3 separate regions of the Homo sapiens genome follow, and regions 1 and 3 are each linked to region 2. The links are contacts of gene promoters, found by promoter capture Hi-C in blood cells and fetal thymus (Javierre and others, 2016). All regions are on one chromosome and are shown on one strand. The core of a region is centred on a gene start or on the middle of the fragment in contact, and the rest is flanking DNA. Distances in the headings are between cores, read along the strand shown.

Region 1 (3,277 bases), core at 350-2,849, 250 kb after region 2:
GCTCAGGCTCCAGAATAGCTAGGACAACAGACACATGCTACCATGCCTGGCTAATTTTTGTATTTTTAGTAGAGATGGGGTTTTGCCATGTTGCCTGGGCTGGTCTTGAACTCCTGAGCTCAAGTGATCCACCTACCTTGGACTCCCCAAATGATGGAATTACAGGGGTTAGCCACAACACCCAGCCATCTTTTTTTTGGGGGGGGGGGTCCTCACTCTGTCACCCAGGTTAGAGTGCAGTGGCATGATCTTAGCTCACTCTACAGCCTTGAACTCTTGCACCCAAGTGATCCTCCTTCCTCAGCCTCCTGAGTACCTAAGACTACAGGCATGTACCACTACCTCCCACTAATTAATTTTTTTTTTTTGAAACGGGGTGTCACTATGTTGACCAAGTTGGTCTTCAACTCATGGCCTCAAGCAGTCCTTGCCTCGCCCCCAAAGTGTTGGGATTACAGGAGTGAGCCACTGTGCCTGGCCTGGTTTTTTCTGATGTACACAAAGTTGCTATGAGTACTAGCCATAGAGTGTGGTGAGGGGAGGGTGAATATGAAACACAAAGTGTAGATTCCACAAATGCTTGCAAAGCACCCTTCTGTAGAGTAGGCACTTAACCTTGGAGATACATGATAAATATGTGTGTGCTTAAGATTGCTTTGTCTAGTAAGGTGCCAGATAATTCTAATACTGTTCTAACACTGCAGTTAAGTAATGGTTCTCGAGGGAACACAGGTGGGCAGTGTTGGGACATCAAGGAAGGCTTCTTAGAAGAAATGACTTCTAAACAAAAGAAATTGGACGTGGTGCCTCTGAGATGAGATCTGAGTGGCTGAAAATGGAGCCCCGGGAGTCCAGAGAGGGAGAAAGCTGGAGAGGTGCCTAGATGGACGGTTAAGGGAAGTGATCCTCACCTCTTACAAAGACTTTTGAGTGTCCACTGCCCTTCAGCAGCTTCCAACTGAGAAGTCATTCATTTGAAAAACAGCAGCTATTAGATGCCTGGCAAAGAAGAGAAGGGGAAAAAAGTTGGAAGTCCTAAATGAGACAATAAGTACCAAGCTCTGTTCCTGGTTCTGGGGAAGTTCCAAAGGAGACTGCAAAGTTAGTAGAGAAATGGGCCCCTGGTATCCTCACCTCCCAGTCCTGCTTAATGCTGAATGTGAGGAGAGATGGAAGTCGGGGAGATCTGGGGAGGACTACAGAGAAGGGAGGCTCTGGTTGTATGCCCAAAGGGCTTGGCTGGTCTTGGGCAGAAATTGGAACCCATACTTCCTGGATGACAGCGGAGGGCATGGCCTGCCAGGGTAGGCTTTGAGAGAGTAAAAATTCCAATTCAAGTATCAGAGGAGGGTGGTTTGGTTCCAAGTTTAAGCTTGGAGGTAGAAGGATGTTTAGGCAGCCAAGGACTGTAAAGCTACAAGTATTTCCTAGGCAGGTGTCTGCCTGGTTTCCAGGATGGGACACACTTCAGTCGCAAAATGGACCAGCAGTGACCGGCTAGATCCCCCGCCCGGGTGGGAGGGGGTGGGACGGTCTTGGGAGAAGGGCGGAGGGCGGGGCCAGGGGCCACTTAAGGCGGAGTCCGGAGTCCGGGCGTTCTGGCAGCACCAGAGTCCTGCAGCAGAGACGGGCTGGGCTGGCACTCACCCACGACCCCCCTTCCCTGCTATGATGGTTTGTCAGTAGCAGGTCCTAGACACCCCCCGCCCGCTCCCGGGGCACGTGGGCAGAGCTAGCAGCAGCCAGGTGCACGGAGCCACAAGAGCTCTAGGGCACTCTGGGGGCAGCTGTGCCTGCTGCCCTCTCTGGTGCCTGTGGAGATGCCTAACTGACAGGAGAGTTAGTGAGGACAAGAACGCTCCCTTTTGGCCGAGGTCCGCTGTATCCATGGCTCTCCTGACCAATCTACTGCCCCTGTGCTGCTTGGCACTTCTGGCGCTGCCAGCCCAGAGCTGCGGGCCGGGCCGGGGGCCGGTTGGCCGGCGCCGCTATGCGCGCAAGCAGCTCGTGCCGCTACTCTACAAGCAATTTGTGCCCGGCGTGCCAGAGCGGACCCTGGGCGCCAGTGGGCCAGCGGAGGGGAGGGTGGCAAGGGGCTCCGAGCGCTTCCGGGACCTCGTGCCCAACTACAACCCCGACATCATCTTCAAGGATGAGGAGAACAGTGGAGCCGACCGCCTGATGACCGAGGTAAGGAGGGCCTCTCCCTACCTGCGCCGGGGCACTGCCAGCTCCTCCGTTTTCCTATGGCAGCCCAGGTGGGTGAGTCCAGCTTCACCTACAGAGAGTTTAGCCTTAGAGATTTCCCTTGTCACCAGCCCCAGGGGGGGGAAAAATCCTTGCAGTCTGGACAGAGTAATTAGGACGGCTCCCGACTAGAATAGTCTGGGATGGGGAGGGGAGGAGGGACTGACTAGTGAGAGTGAAGCTGGTAGAGGCAGCGAGGGCGGGGAAAGGAGGATGGCGGCAGGCGAGACGGGAAATGGCTGAGGCGTGGACCGGGGGTCAGCCACCCAGCCAGGCAGGAAGGGCTGGGGTGAGCTGGGGGCCAGGAGCTGGCTAGGTAGCAGACAGAAGCCTGGCTCCTGACCTGATTGTAGAAAAGCTCTGTGGGCCGAAAAGAAGAGACTGAAAAGGGCTGGGACAGGGGTGGCCAAGGGTCAGGTCACCAGACCATCTACCTGAGGAGGGGCTGGGCAGACATTGCTTTTGGCATGGGAAACGTGTCCTAGAACCAGGACACATCTATTCTAGGGTCTATTCTAGGGCTATCCTAGGGTCTAAACGATAATCTTGGGGTTAAAAAGTAATCCTCAGTGAGAATAACAGATGGACCCACCTGAGAATCAGAGGGCTCCTAAGTCTTCCAAGCTCTGCCTATCTCAGGGGCTTTCCTTGGAATTACATAATTAGGATAAATTCAACTACCATTTTTGAGCATTGGAACCACCTAGAGTGAGGTGGAAGAGAAGGACCACCTCTGGCGAGTGATTTATTTTTTATTTTTTGTAGAGACGGGGTCTTGCCATGTTGCCTAGGCTAGTCTTGAACTCCTGAGCTCAAGGGATCCTCCCACCTCGGCCTCCCAAAGTGCTGGATTACAGGTGTGAGCCACTTCATCCAGCCTGGCCAGTGATCTTGAATGTTAGAACTGAAAGAAAACTTGAGAGATGACATTCCTCCAACCCTCCCCACCCCCACTGCCACCCTCATTTTACATCTGAGAGCTGGACTTCCCCCAGGAGGAAAAGCAATTTAAACTCTCACAATTTAAAGT
Region 2 (3,198 bases), core at 101-2,600:
GGAAAGCCACTCCACAGCAGCTGGACAAATCCTCACAATATCAAACTGGACGCCAAGCGTGCCTGCCAGTGTCCCCTCTATCTGGAGCGACCACCAGCCAGCACCCGCTACTTCCAAATCAAGTGGCCATACCTGGGTGCCCCGCTCCCAGACCGAGTCAGACCAGTCATTTCCTTTGACCACAGAGTGAAAATGGCCCGTCTCGCCCTGCTCCCACTTCCATCCAAATGGACTTTGTCTTTTGTGTCTGTTGTGTCACGGAAGTCCGGCTTCCCCAGGCCAGGCTCCTCCCCAGGGCCCTCCCCGGCCCCCTGGGGATCACATTCCCGCCTGGGACTCCTCCCGCCCGCCCTCGCGGGGAAACTCGGTGCAAGGCTCTGCAGACGCCTGCAGCTCCGGTGGGCTCAGTGCCCAGCCCGGGCCCAGCTCCTCCCACACCACCGCACCATGGCCGCCAGGTGGCGCTGCCGCCGATGGAAGGGGGGGTCCGGGCGGTCCCCAGACACCTTGTGCGGGTACCGAGGCACAGCAGCACAGGACTGCCCCTATGGAGGGGCTGCCTGGCAGGAGCAAGGGACGCTCCTATCTGTAGTGCTAAAAAAAAGGATAAACTCCTGTAAATGCAAGAATACGTCCTTGATTACCTCCTCCCACCCCCACAAATTGAAAGGTGACTCCTCCCTCACCTCAAGCTGCACGCTCCTCTCTTCACGCTCCGTTGACCTTCAAGACTGGATGGTTCCACCTCCAATTCCCTTAAGGCAGAGACATCCACGGACAGGCTGCAGTGAGGGACATCCAACCCAAGCTGTCCTCAACCCCCCACAGGGCTTGCTTGCCTCACCGGCCCACCTCCGAGCCTTCCAGTTAGGGGCTCTGCTTCTGCACCTGAGCCTGAGACCTGAGGAGCCTCCCAATCCAGGGCTGCTCTGTCCCGCGGGCTATGAACCAGAGGGAGAAACGGGAGCAGAGGGTTGGAGGGCAGGAGGCTCGACCAGGAGGGCGAGGCCGCAGCCCGAGGCTCGTGGTAGTCTGCCTTCCTGCGCCTCTGCGCTGCAACGGAGCTGCAATGCAAGACGCCTTCATTTCAATGTCCCGGGCTCCAATCCCGGGTTCTACTCCGTGAACTTGGCTAAGTCATGCAGCTTCTTGGGCCTCAATTTCCTTCTCTGGCAATCTCGTGGATCTCCGAGGTCCCCCAGTCTGGACTTGCGGGGGCTTCGGGGGACGGTCGGCCTCGCGGGTGTCACCTCCCGGCAGTAGGCAGAGCGCTTCCCTCCAAACGCCCTCAGCCCTCATCTCGGCCTGGAGAGGAAATGCTGCTCTCTATATGACCTCTTAGGGCTCACTGAGGGGCCTAGGCTGGGAGGGGCCCCAAAGCGACGCCTCAGACTGCTGGGGGGCGGGGGCGGACAGGAGCGCTGAATAATGAATGAGACTTAATTGGGCCCGCACTGCGCGACGGCGCGCTAAGCTTTGCAAACAGCGTGGGCGGCGGCGGCCGCCGCTGGACAAACAAACTATCTCCCGGCTCAGGTGGTGGGGCGGGGGCGGCAGCCATACAAGGGAGAGGGAAGGGGCTGGCCGCCGGGGCACCCGGGGCCGCAGCGCGCCCCCAGGTTTACTTCCCGAGGAACCCAGAAATGCGGGGCTGCGCTGGCGGCCCAGAGAGTGGGGGTCGGGAAGGGGCTCAGGGTTCGATCTCAGGAAGGGAGGAGTGGGGAGGGAGAGAAGCGGATTGTGCGGGGAGAGCCAGGGGCCCAAGGGCAATGTAAGCGCGAGGAAAAGCTGAAGAAACGAGTGGAGGGCAGAGGAGAGGGGAGAAGTGAGCGAGGAAAAAGCGCACCGGGGGAGGGGCGACGGGGTCGGGGGAGCGGGAGAAGAGCTGTTACCGGGAGGAAAGGGAAGAGCGATGGAGGAACAAGCGAAGGAAGGCGCAAGGGGCCGGGAGAAGAGGAATTGAAGAGTCAAGGAGAGGGATGGGAGGTGACCGGAATAAGAACGAGGGGGCGGCAGGGCGGGGGGAGGCGCCCCTGCCTCCGCCTCGCCCTGCAGCGCTCCCGGCCTAGCGCTCTCTCCAGCCGCCCGCACTCACTTTGTCACAATTACGGGGCCGTCACTCCGCCCGGATTGTTTTCCCCAAATTGTTGTTCTATAAACTGGTGCAGAGTGGGAGGTGGGGGGATCTGACAAACTGCAGCGAGAGGAAAGGGTCTGAGCTGTGGTGCGGGGCGCGGTGGTGCATTTACCCGCAAACTGGCCCCGCGTGGGCGGAGGAATCCAAAAAACCCACGCAGGAATTCTGGTTGCTGCCCCAGCTTCGTCGCTGACCCCGCTTTTAACTTTTTGGCTATTCTCAGCATCGGCTGCCTCGGTTTCCCCAGCAGAGCGTGACAAGGATCGGAGGCTGGGGTGGTGGAGGCGCTTGTAGGTGGGGTCCAAACCGTCCTGCCTGTCCCATTCTGTCTTGTTCTTTACTACCCGGGTCTCCCCGGCGGGGGATGGGTGGTCTATCCCAGCCCAGCGGTCCTCAGAGCGACCTCGAGTGCCTTCTTCCCCCGTGAGTGAGGCTTCTGCCCTCACCCGGTCTGGGCCATCTCCTACCCCGCCTGTGCCCTCCGACCCTCTGCCCTGCGCCGCTCGGTGTCCCAGCCTTTCAATTCGGCAAACATACGTTGCGCGCCCACTGAGTGCCAGCGCTGAGCCAGCCTCACCCCGCCGCCTCTCCCCCCCGCCACCCGCCCCTTCCCGGCCGGCCCGGCCTGTCGGCTCCGTGACAGCAGCCGCCGAAGCCCCGGCCCCGCGGGAGCGGCCAGAGAGGAGCCGCCGCATGGCTGGCTCCGACACTGGCCTCCCCGGCGGCTCCAGGGGCAACGAAGGGTGGCGGCCGCTGAAGCGAGACTGGAGCCTGCTGGGGGAGTTGGCAGGGCTGAGCGGGGGAGGGGGAGGCCCTGGGCGGGCTTCTCTCTGGTTCTCTAAGGCCTGTCGTTCTCATTCCGTCGCCCTCCGGTACCGCCCGGGTCCCGACCCCTCCTGGCTTCGCGAGCCTGGGACGTGGTAGGCTCCCCACGCCCCCTCCCCCAGCCCAGGTGATTTACACGCGGGCTCCGCGAAGCGGCCGCTTCCCAATCAGGAATATCGACCCCGGGCGGGGCCCCCGGGCCGCATCGATCCCTCTAAGGCTCGGGATTTAAAAAT
Region 3 (3,260 bases), core at 320-2,819, 150 kb before region 2:
AGTGAGCTGAAATCACACCATTGCACTCCAGCCTGGGTGACAAGAGTGAAACTCCATCTCAAAAAAAAAAAAAAAAAAAATAGATACCATATGTTCAAGAAGGTAGAGGAAAGCATAAGCGTGGTAAGAAGAGATATGGAAGATATCTTAAAAGACCCCAGTTGAACTTCTAGAGACAAATAAAACAATGCCAGAGACATATACTGCATAGAATTAACAGCAGAATAGAAACTGTTAACAAAAGATGAATACAGTTGAAGACAGCAGTTTTACAAACTATCCAAAATGAAATGAAACACACAGAGAAAAAAGACTTTAAAAAAGGTACCAAATTTTCAAAATTCCTTAAGTTACAGGATTTAATAGAATATAATTCACCATGTGGACATTACAAAATTAAAATGTTCTGTCTGTATAGTACACTTCAAAGCACTGTATATATGAGGAAGCCAGCTTTGTAGAAAAGGATGGACTGCATTTACCTACTCAACACATTTTAACCAATTTCCAAGAGTTCTATTTACCTTTCTATATTCACCAATCCCCAAATTACATATATAATTGATTGCTGGAAACATGGATCTAAAAAGTTTGTAACTATGCCAAGATATGCATTTCCAATTTTTTTATTTAAATTCTTCCTCATCTCAACTTGATTTTATTTTTTAGAATCCACCTAAAAGCTTTCAAGCCTTGTGCGCATATATATATATATATATATATATTTTTTTTTTTTTTGGCTTGATTGGATAGTCTCAAACCTGCTGATCTGCAACAGGCTGAGGGCTACCAGAACAATGAAAAAGGGGAGCTTACCTAATTAAAATTTGGCTCATGTGTAATAAATAATTCCATAAAGAGCTACTGATTACAAGTGTCCTTTATATTTCTATGTTTCATTTGTTTAGTGGAGTGGACCACCATGCTTAGATGTATGAAACTCAGATATAGGAAACACAGGGTATTATCTCTGTCTGCTGAATTACTGGCTGTTTGTTTAAATGATTATTGTAGTTTTCTTTTTTTTTTAAGCAAAGAGCTATCACCAGTCAACGCCACATACTTAAGAGAAAATGACCTTACTTTTTCTAAGCTAGAGTCTGTCAGAGGACTCTAGCTCAGTAAGAGCATGAAGTTATGAAGAGGAGTGAAAATATTTCTTTAAAATGTCAATGTTGGCTGGGCGCAGTGGCTCACGCCTGTAATTCCAGCACTTTGGGAGGCCGAGACAGGCGGATCACGAGGTCAGGAGATCGAGACCATCCTGGCTAACACGGCGAAACCCCATCTCTACTAAAAATACAAAAAAATAGCCGGGCATGGTGGCACTCGCCTGTAGTCCCAGCTACTTGGTAGGCTGAGGCAGGAGAATGGCATGAACCCGGGAGGCGGAGCTTGCAGTGAGCCAAGACTGCGCCACTGCACTCCAGCCTGGGGGACAAAGTGAGACTCAGTCTCGGGGGAAAAAAAAAAAAAAAGTCAATGTCAGAGAAGGTAGAGCTTTTACTTGTTGGGTCAACCAGAAGATAAAAATGAAAGAAATAGCACCAAAACGTTGCAATAAAGCAAATAAAGAAACAGGTTAATGTTAGCAGGTAAATCATTCTGGCAGTAGAGTTTGACTTTAATTCACAAAACGTGCCGTCGTAAGTAGATTGTACAGCATTTAAACTACTTTCAGACTCCAACTGTGTACACAAAGGTTAGGGGAAGGGCTGAGTAGTCAGTCACTGTCTGGAAAATGGAAAAATATTAACTGATGCCCTTCTGAAACCTTATTTATGGCAACAGAGATAATTTGCCCTCTTTAGCCAAAAACACAGATTTTTCATTTTCTCTCACAGGTGGGCCTCTGACTTACTTAGCTTTTTACTGGTGGCGAGGGGAACATCTTCCATCCCCATATTTGAAAACTGAGTTTCTGTGGTAGGTCTTGAGAGAGATTTGGCAGCATTCCTGGGTTGTTGAGAATTGTGAATAGAGTGCATAGTCAAAGACTTGGTCTCAAAATCAGAGACACCATTCTGCAGCATGGATCCTGTCCAAGAAAGAGGACTGTACTTTAGAGCACAATTTAGGAGTAAACCAGTCATTCTTAAGTACACAAAGAAAACAGGTAAAAATGTTTGAGGCAAAACCATGCCTCTTAAAAGACTGTAAACAAAATCAACTGAAACAATAGAACAAAGATCAGAATCAGCTGGGTATGGCTATCGGCAGCTTCGGGCTTAGTCTTAAGTGGCGTCCGGAATGAAGAGAAGAGTCTGTGGCAACACATCTTTAGATAGGGAGCTCAATCCCTGTGGCTCTGTGGCTTCTTTGTAGCTTGGTAGTTTCTATGTAAGTCTGGCACAAGGAATCAAAGAAAGTCAGTATCACCAACTTCTGCAAGCCTCCATGTTAAGAAAAAAAGAGTTTTAAACTCTCTCGAGGAAAGAAGAATTTAAAAAGCTTTAGGGGCCAGGCATAGTGGCTCACGCCAGTAATCCCAGGTATTCAGGAAGCTGAGGCAGAAGGATCACTTGAGCACAGGAGTTTAAGACCAGCTTGGGCAACAGAGAGAGACCAGGTCTCTCAAAACAAACAAACAAACAAACAAACAACAACGCTCTAGGGGATAGAAGTGTAATAAGTTAGGAAGAGTTAGGAAATGAGAGGAAAGCTAGTTCAGAAAAAAATGGAAACCACTGGCTATTGTTGGTTTGAGTCAGTGCAATGTTTTTCTCTAAGTCTTTTTTTGTGTATGTGTGTATACTAATCAATAAAAGAACACCTAAACAGCACAGCATAAATCTTATATTGGCATTACACTTCTAAAGCCAGGAGCAGCAGGGCAGGGGAACTGGATTAACAAGTAATGTTTTAAAAGAGAAATTTCCAGTATCTTACCCTCAAAAAAATGGTTAACAAAGAAAGGTACAAGATATGTGAATTTACAACTAACACTAATCTTAATTCTTCACTAGAAAACAAATGTGAGACTATAAAAACCAACAGCCTAGTTCTCACAAAAGCTGAAATTATCATTATTATATTTCTCACTATGTTGGGTCTTAAAATAATAATATCAACATCATCATCTTCCTGAATAACTCCACAATTTTTAAAAAACAACTTAAAGTCACCTTCTGTAGTCTCTAAATACTGAGGTATTTCTCTGCTATTAACCCATTTATGCCGGAGGCTGCAATTTTTTTAATTTTTGCATGAGTGGAAAAATTAGATCTTGGCGATGACCTTGAGCAGTAGGATATGAATAA

The links. Contacts are between HindIII fragments. The CHiCAGO score rates a contact against its expected background, and 5 or more counts as called.
Region 1: a contact is called between the fragment with the promoter of DHH here and the fragment with the promoter of DNAJC22 in region 2, in 5 of 17 cell types (neutrophils, erythroblasts, M0 macrophages and 2 more). The highest score is 8.4, in neutrophils.
Region 3: a contact is called between a fragment that was not itself captured here and the fragment with the promoter of DNAJC22 in region 2, in 1 of 17 cell types (megakaryocytes). The highest score is 5.5, in megakaryocytes.

What each region holds. Positions count from the first base shown.
Region 1 is chr12:49,093,123-49,096,399 of GRCh38, reverse strand. DHH (desert hedgehog signaling molecule) reads left to right here and starts at 1,599. Exons shown (of 3, transcript NM_021044.4): 1 at 1,599-2,190. The coding sequence starts at 1,888. It overlaps DHH-AS1 (DHH antisense RNA 1), which reads right to left. Exons shown (of 4, transcript XR_007063295.1): 3 at 2,212-2,278; 4 at 656-999. The HindIII fragment of the contact is 10,631 bases long and covers 1,375-3,277 here.
Region 2 is chr12:49,345,040-49,348,237 of GRCh38, reverse strand. DNAJC22 (DnaJ heat shock protein family (Hsp40) member C22) reads right to left here and starts at 1,350. Exons shown (of 4, transcript NM_001304944.2): 1 at 687-1,350; 2 at 133-594. RefSeq lists silencers at 314-533, 2,566-2,685, 2,706-2,805, 2,836-3,025 and an enhancer at 1-651. The HindIII fragment of the contact is 2,270 bases long and covers 1-1,476 here.
Region 3 is chr12:49,495,611-49,498,870 of GRCh38, reverse strand. It overlaps SPATS2 (spermatogenesis associated serine rich 2), which reads right to left. Exons shown (of 14, transcript NM_023071.4): 8 at 1,862-2,038. Among named protein-coding and RNA genes, the nearest start is that of KCNH3, 42 kb to the left of the region's middle. The HindIII fragment of the contact is 1,768 bases long and covers 686-2,453 here.